Regions from separate parts of the Homo sapiens genome. Here region 2 is linked to region 1. The links are contacts of gene promoters, found by promoter capture Hi-C in blood cells and fetal thymus (Javierre and others, 2016). All regions are on one chromosome and are shown on one strand. Each heading gives the region's core, a stretch centred on a gene start or on the middle of the fragment in contact. The rest is flanking DNA. Distances are from core to core; before and after follow the strand shown. Region 1 holds the start of SNAPC3 (small nuclear RNA activating complex polypeptide 3). Region 2 overlaps TTC39B (tetratricopeptide repeat domain 39B).

The links. Contacts are between HindIII fragments. The CHiCAGO score rates a contact against its expected background, and 5 or more counts as called.
Region 2: a fragment that was not itself captured here is called in contact with the fragment with the promoter of SNAPC3 in region 1 in 12 of 17 cell types (naive CD8 T cells, non-activated CD4 T cells, activated CD4 T cells and 9 more); the score reaches 12.1 in naive CD8 T cells.

Annotation. Positions count from the first base shown.
Region 1 is chr9:15,421,580-15,424,851 of GRCh38, forward strand. It overlaps SNAPC3 (small nuclear RNA activating complex polypeptide 3), which reads left to right and starts at 1,297. Exons shown (of 9, transcript NM_001039697.2): 1 at 1,297-1,614; 2 at 2,330-2,407. The coding sequence starts at 1,301. RefSeq lists a silencer at 1,024-1,313 and an enhancer at 1,654-1,773. The HindIII fragment of the contact is 2,004 bases long and covers 1-1,745 here.
Region 2 is chr9:15,280,745-15,284,298 of GRCh38, forward strand. The region is part of intron 1 of TTC39B (tetratricopeptide repeat domain 39B); the gene reads right to left. Among named protein-coding and RNA genes, the nearest start is that of TTC39B, 25 kb to the right of the region's middle. The HindIII fragment of the contact is 1,320 bases long and covers 804-2,123 here.

The sequences.
Region 1 (3,272 bases), core at 47-2,546:
GAAAGGTCATACTCCCCGATTTTGTCTCTTAATGCATATGCCCAGGAAGTTGCTTCTCCCTGTCACCTGCATTCAACGAGCACTTTAGTGCAACAGGTGTGGGCCATCAGGAAATGGCCTCTCCCTGGCACCGGCTGCCAATTTATCACTTTTAGAGGCAATGTGATAAATGCCTAAGCATCACCCCACATTCCTAGTGGGTGAGGGAAGAGCCCTCTCCTGCCCTGCTCATGCCTAACTACCTGTAACAAACCTTGTAAACATTAAGCCAGCCACCAAAAGACCATATAATTCCGTTTATATTAAATGTCCAGATTAGTTAAATCTAGAGAGACAAAGTAGGTTCTTGGTTGGCTAGGGCTGGAGGAGTTGGGAGGATCAGGGGTGATAGCTAAAAAGTACAAGTTTCTTCTTTCGAGTGGTAAAAATGCTCTCAAATAGTGGTGATGGTTGCCCAAGCCTGTGAATATACCAAAAATCACTGAACACTTCAAATGGGTGAATTATATGGCATGTGATTACAGTCTAATAAATAAATAGTATGTCCTGCTGTATCCTTCAGGGCCTCTGAGAAATGGAGAGAGCTCCATCTGAAGCCAGACTGAGTTCCGATCCTGCTTCTATTTTCCCCGCAGGTAAATCCTTCCTCAACAGCAACACGGGGTGATACGCCCTATCCGGAAAGGTTGTTGTAATTTTTAAAAACATTAAAAACATACATTAGGGTTAATCATGTAGCGTGTGATACACAGACGCTCTGAAACACTACTGCACACGCACACCAACATGGGGCCTCTGCGGAGCTTGTGAAAGAACCAGATCTGGAGGGCTGGTCGTGTCCCTGGTCTCGGCCCTCGCCCTCCTTGTTTCTTAGGCTCTAAAGCAATCAGGCAGCAGAGCAGTCCTTGAACCCCAGTCAAGAAAAAGCCCTGCACCCCTTAGTCCGAAAGCCGCAAGGAACGGGGCCTAAGCGCCTGGCGAGGCCGCCCTACCGGGCAGAGACAGTTGCTACGTAACTCGGGGACCAGAAACCCAGCCCCACCCGCTGCGGTTAACCGACAGCCGCAACGGTTCCCGCACCGCCCGGGTCGGAGAACAATGCTGCGCCCTGCACGTAGAGCCTCGCGGTGCCGCGCCCTGGGGCGGGCCTGCCCATGGCCTGCCGGGAAATGTAGTTTCTGATGCCCTGCCCGCGCCGCCTCGCCGCTCGCCGGCCGGGCGCCCCAAGCAACTACAACTTCCATCACGCTCTGCGAGGCCTTGATCTGCAGGCTTTTGCAGGGGAAGGAGTGGGGCGAACATGGCTGAAGGAAGCCGAGGTGGCCCTACGTGTAGCGGGGTGGGTGGCAGGCAGGACCCAGTCTCCGGCAGTGGCGGCTGCAACTTTCCAGAGTATGAGCTTCCCGAGCTAAATACGCGCGCTTTCCATGTGGGCGCCTTTGGGGAGCTGTGGCGGGGCCGTCTGCGCGGGGCCGGGGACTTGTCGCTGAGGGAGCCGCCGGCATCCGCTCTGCCTGGGAGCCAGGCAGCTGACTCCGACCGGGAGGATGCCGCGGTGGCCAGGGATCTGGACTGCAGCCTGGAGGCGGCGGCTGAGCTGAGGGCGGTGTGCGGGTGAGTGCGGAGCAAAGGGGCTCTTGCAGCTTGGGGTCAAACAGGGTGCAGCCTTGCTCGTGCGCTCCTCTGGGACTCATCCCTGAGAAGGGCCTGTGGTTTAGACCTGGGCTAGGAGTATTACCCTTTAAAGCTTTCAACCCGCTGGAGCCTTCCTGGGACACCAGGAGAAGTCCTGGGACCCGAATGCACAGTTTCTACGAGTTGGAGCAAAGGGACAAGACAGCTGCATCAAAGACTAGTTTTTCCATTTGCTTATTCTAAGAGTGCTTGTTAATAAAGAAAAGCAATCAGGGCAACAGCGACGTGTACCTGCCATTGACAGACACTTTGACAATGGAGGAACCTGAGTAATGGTGAAGCTGCGGGAGACTTCATCAGAGGAGTGTTAAAACCCCGACTAACTGGTTTCTTTTGGGGACCTTCCGGGTATTCTGTTACTGAAATATTTCTTAAAAGTGCCTTATTTGGGGATGAAAATATAAAAATAACTTTAATCTCTTTCTCCATTTAACAGTACTGGCTGCCTTCATCGGCCTTTTCATTATAAAATATAATCACAGAAATCGTTGTCTTAAGTTCTGGCCTCTCTGAGCCGCCTGCTGGATTTTATCTGACTTCGTAATTCAGTAATGTATTTAGGAAAACAACCCTAACTCGCTGTGAACCAGATGCAGAGTCGACCTTAAAGTATTGCTTTTCCTTTTTGTTTTAGCCTTGATAAACTGAAATGCCTTGAGGACGGTGAGGATCCAGAAGTCATTCCGGAGAATACTGACCTGGTGACTTTGGGGTATGGAGGACTTGGTTTTTATGACCTATTTATTTAAACATTTTTTCAACATTATGTTTTGAAAAGTTGAAAGTGCAGTATTGATTGTTGTCTGTATACCCACCCCTTAAATTCAGCTGTTCTTAATATTTGACCATATTTACTTTAGCCGTGTGTATGGGATGCCTGCTGTGTGTTTTTTCATTTTGCTATCCCCCATTCAGTAAGTTAGACATGATAATTTACCCGTAAATACATAAGCATATAGCTTCTAAAAGTATCATTCTCCTACATAATTATTGTGGTATTATTATACCTAAGAAAACCGTAAATACATAATCTATAATATTCAGTCCATATTCAAACTTGTGTTTATTTTTTAATATTTTTGAATGTTTGTTTATAGAGGTAATCTACTTAGATCTGGGGGGCAACCTAAATACTCTGACAGTGTTTTTCAAACTATTTGTGGTAAAGGACAGTTCTTGTTTTTAAAAATTTTTAATCTTTGACAGATTTATGCTTTGATAAAATACTATAAAAAGAATTACTAGAAAAATGGAATTAAAAAAGACAAACACAATATAAGTTCAAATTTTTAATTAAATTCAATAGACAAAATTATTCAATGATAATGGAAGTTTCTAAATGCTTACTGTCATTTTCTGTACAGATTGGTTAACAAATAGGTCATAGATGAATTCTGGTCTGCCTACCACTCTTTGAGAGGCACTGTTGTATGATAATATAGAGAAATTGTGCATGTAATAGTGAAATTTATAATTTCCAATTTATAGTCCACTTATTTCATACTACCTCAGCTATGTTCTGTCGTTCTTGATCCTACGCTATTATCCCCCTCAAATATTCAGGCAGTCATTTCAAC
Region 2 (3,554 bases), core at 214-2,713, 140 kb before region 1:
TCCCTAAAAGTTAATATATTGAGAACTTAGCTTGAGTCTGGTCCTTCCCAATTCCAAAAGTAGGAGGAGTAAAGAATGCGAATGCTTGCAGTGGGGTTTAGTAGAATGCCTCTCTCAGGGCTCCCCCTACCATTCTAGAGAGTCGAGGCACCAGCCATTCTTGCCAGTCTCATCACAGTGCTTCCCAAAGAGGCTGTTTTGTGTGTTGAAAAGATGAAAACAATGCAATTATCCCAAACAGTATTGAGAAGAATAATTTATTTCTTTTTTCTTTCTTTTTTGTCTTTTTTTTTGTTTAAATCATCAGTCCCTATTCTGGAAGAGGTACATCCCAGCATCTAGCCCAGATGTCCTTTTATGCAATAGTTATTTTAACAAACTTTCTTTATTTCCTTCCTTTTCTCTTTCTAAACTAAAAGGAAAAAAAATCTAAAAACAACAACAACAACAACAAAAACCCACTGTGTGTGGTCTTGGGCAAGGTACTTCTCTAAGATTCTTATTCATCACCTGTAAAATGGGAATAACAGTGCCATCAAACTCATGGGGTTGAAGAATTAAATGAGATGTACGTAGGCTTTAACATGATGCCTATTCACAGTAAGTACGAAATAATGTCAGCTCCCATTAAATTATTACTTTCATTATGATTACTGCAGGGAAAAGTTGTGTGTCCAAATACTGGACCACTCATACAGTGCCCTCCCTCTCTTGGTATCTATCCTTATAGGTAATTTTGGTATTAGCAAAGCAGAGATGCTGAGAAGTTAAATCTGTCCTTTTGGGGCAATCTAAGGGAGAAAAGCTTAAGACTTCTACATATTAATTTCTGCTAAGACTAAATTATCCTCCACTCCTACCAACATCCCCCCTGCAACAGCAAAAAAAAAAAAAAAAAAAAAAAAATGGCAAAAAGCTAAATGCCTCTTCTGCATTTTTTTTTTCTTTTTGAGACAGGGTCTCACTCTGTCACTCACGCTGGAGTGCAGTGGCACAATCTAGGCTCACTGCAATCTCCGCCCCCAGGTTCAAGCAATTCTCCCACTTCAGCTTCCCTGAGTAGCAGGGACTACAGGCACATGCCATGTAGTCCGGCTAATTTTTGTATTTTTTGGTAGAGGTGGGGTTTCACTATGTTGGTCAGGCTGGTCTCAAACTCCTGACCTCAAGTGATCCACCCACCTCAGCCTCCCAAAGTGTTGAGATTACAGGCATGAGCCACCACACACAGACTTACCTACATATTTTATTATGTAGGAAAACAAACTTTCAATTATACCGTAAAACAAATTAACTTGTTTTACAGTTAAAAGAAATTTAACTATAAATTAATTTGTTCACCAAATTGCTTGGTGAACCAATACTATCATAAGTAAAATGCTGACATTTTGGTTTCTAACAAGAAGCAATTAAACATAGACACTTACTCAAAACTCGCAAAAAATAGAGACTGCCAGAAGTGATAATTAGTATAACAGACCATATAACTAGTATCTCAAATTTCATATACATTATCCACCAAAAAATGAATTAAAAATTCTAAACATGTTAAAAGACAAAGACTGACACTCTGGTAAAACAAATGCAGTAAAAGGAATTTGAAATGACTGCAGAGGGATAGATACCAAGGAACCCTGGGGGCTCATGGAAATATTCTGCCTTAGTTGTACTGGGGATTAAATGGGTGCATACATTTATAAAACTTAATCTTAACATGGTGCTACTCTTAGCACGTACTCTTAACATGGGTTTACTGCATGTAAGTTATACCATGAGAAAGGTGGTCTTTAAAAGAATTTGGGAAAAATAAATAATTCTAAAATTCCATATGAGGTGTTAAAAATTTGGATGCTAACGAAGTCACAATAATGGCTAACACACCCTCTACAACACTCTATGAGCCAGACACTGCTCCACAAACTTTTACATATAACAACTGATTTGCTCTTCATAAAAACCCTCGGTAGTGGCTTCATACTCTACTCAGTTTACATATGATGAAACTGGAGCACAGAGAGGTTAAGTAACTCACCCAAGGTCACAAAGCATGTATAAGTGGCAGAATCAGGATTTAAACCCACAGAGTCCAGCTTCAGAATCTGATCTACACTCATTCTCATTAAAGCTTTTAAAATGATGTTTGAGAAGCAAATTTTGTAAATTCAACAAACTGAGCTATTTGACAAAGTGAACTTCATCAAACTGAGCCAGAGCTGTACAGACACTGTAACTTTTCTTCACACCGTATTTCTCAATCGTAATTACAAAATTAGGTACAACTATTTGTTTCACGTCTGCCCTCCCTCCAGGCGGCATTTACCATAAGGCATATCTATAAGCTCTATCCACAAGCACCAAGCGCCACGCCTACCCACAGCAACCACACCAAGATACTACTGGAAGGAATCAATAAAGAAATAAATGAATGAGTACAGGAATACACTAATGTGTTTATTTATGTATCAAGTGGAATATCACTAAAGACAGAAATTTTATTCACATGTGTATATAAGTATGCTATTTCTTAAATGAATGCAAGGCTATTCTGATTAATAAGCTATAACACTGTCACAGAACATATCATTTCTCTGTCACTATGGAGATATACATAATATTTTGTAAGCATGTCTGTACACCAAGCATTAGCTTTTGCACCTTTATGCATTGTCTCATGTAAACTTGACATTTCTGTAAAACAGGTGCAATTATCATTCCCACAGCTAACAACTGGTTTATACACAGGCCTATTTGATTCCATAGCCTGAGTTCCTTTTCATGCCAGGAGAACTTTTTACATACAGAGAACTCAGTCAATAAGATTCGCAGCAGAACTCTCAGTGGAACCTGACAAGTAGTTCTAAAGTTATCAAGAAGGAAAAAAAATTGTAGGATTTGCCCTGAAAAATTGAAACTATGGAATTGGCACAGGAACATATATACAGATCAATAGAACATAATAAAGAATACAGACAGGGATTCCTGTGCATATCGGAATTTTATTATTCAGTTACGATTTTACAGTAGAGAGAAAATATTTAATAACTGATGCTAAGGATATTGGTTGTCTACTAAGACAAAAATGAAATTAAACCCATATACAAGTTTCCATATAAAGAGATAAATATAAAAATTTTAAAAAATGGGTATTTTTTAAAATAATCTTAAAACAGGGACAGTCTTTCTAAGCAAAACACAAAGACCAGAAGCCTTAAAGAAAAGAGTAAAAGATTTTGCTACATAAAAATTTTAAACTTCTAAGACAAGCAACTGGCTAGGATAAAATAATTAAGGCACTTTAACAGGCAAAACAATTACTATTTAGAATAAACAAAGAACACTCCTACAGGTCATAAGGAATAGACAACCAAAAAGGACAAAAGATAAAGGGTGTGACATGCACTCGTACACTGAAGAAGAAATCCACTAGCCAATAAATGTGGAAATGTGCACGTAAAAAGTCATATTATTTTTGTCCCTGTGATTGGCAAAAATTTACAAGGTTGATAATATCCACAGTTGGCAGAGATGCCGGAAAATAAGCATATACTATCATT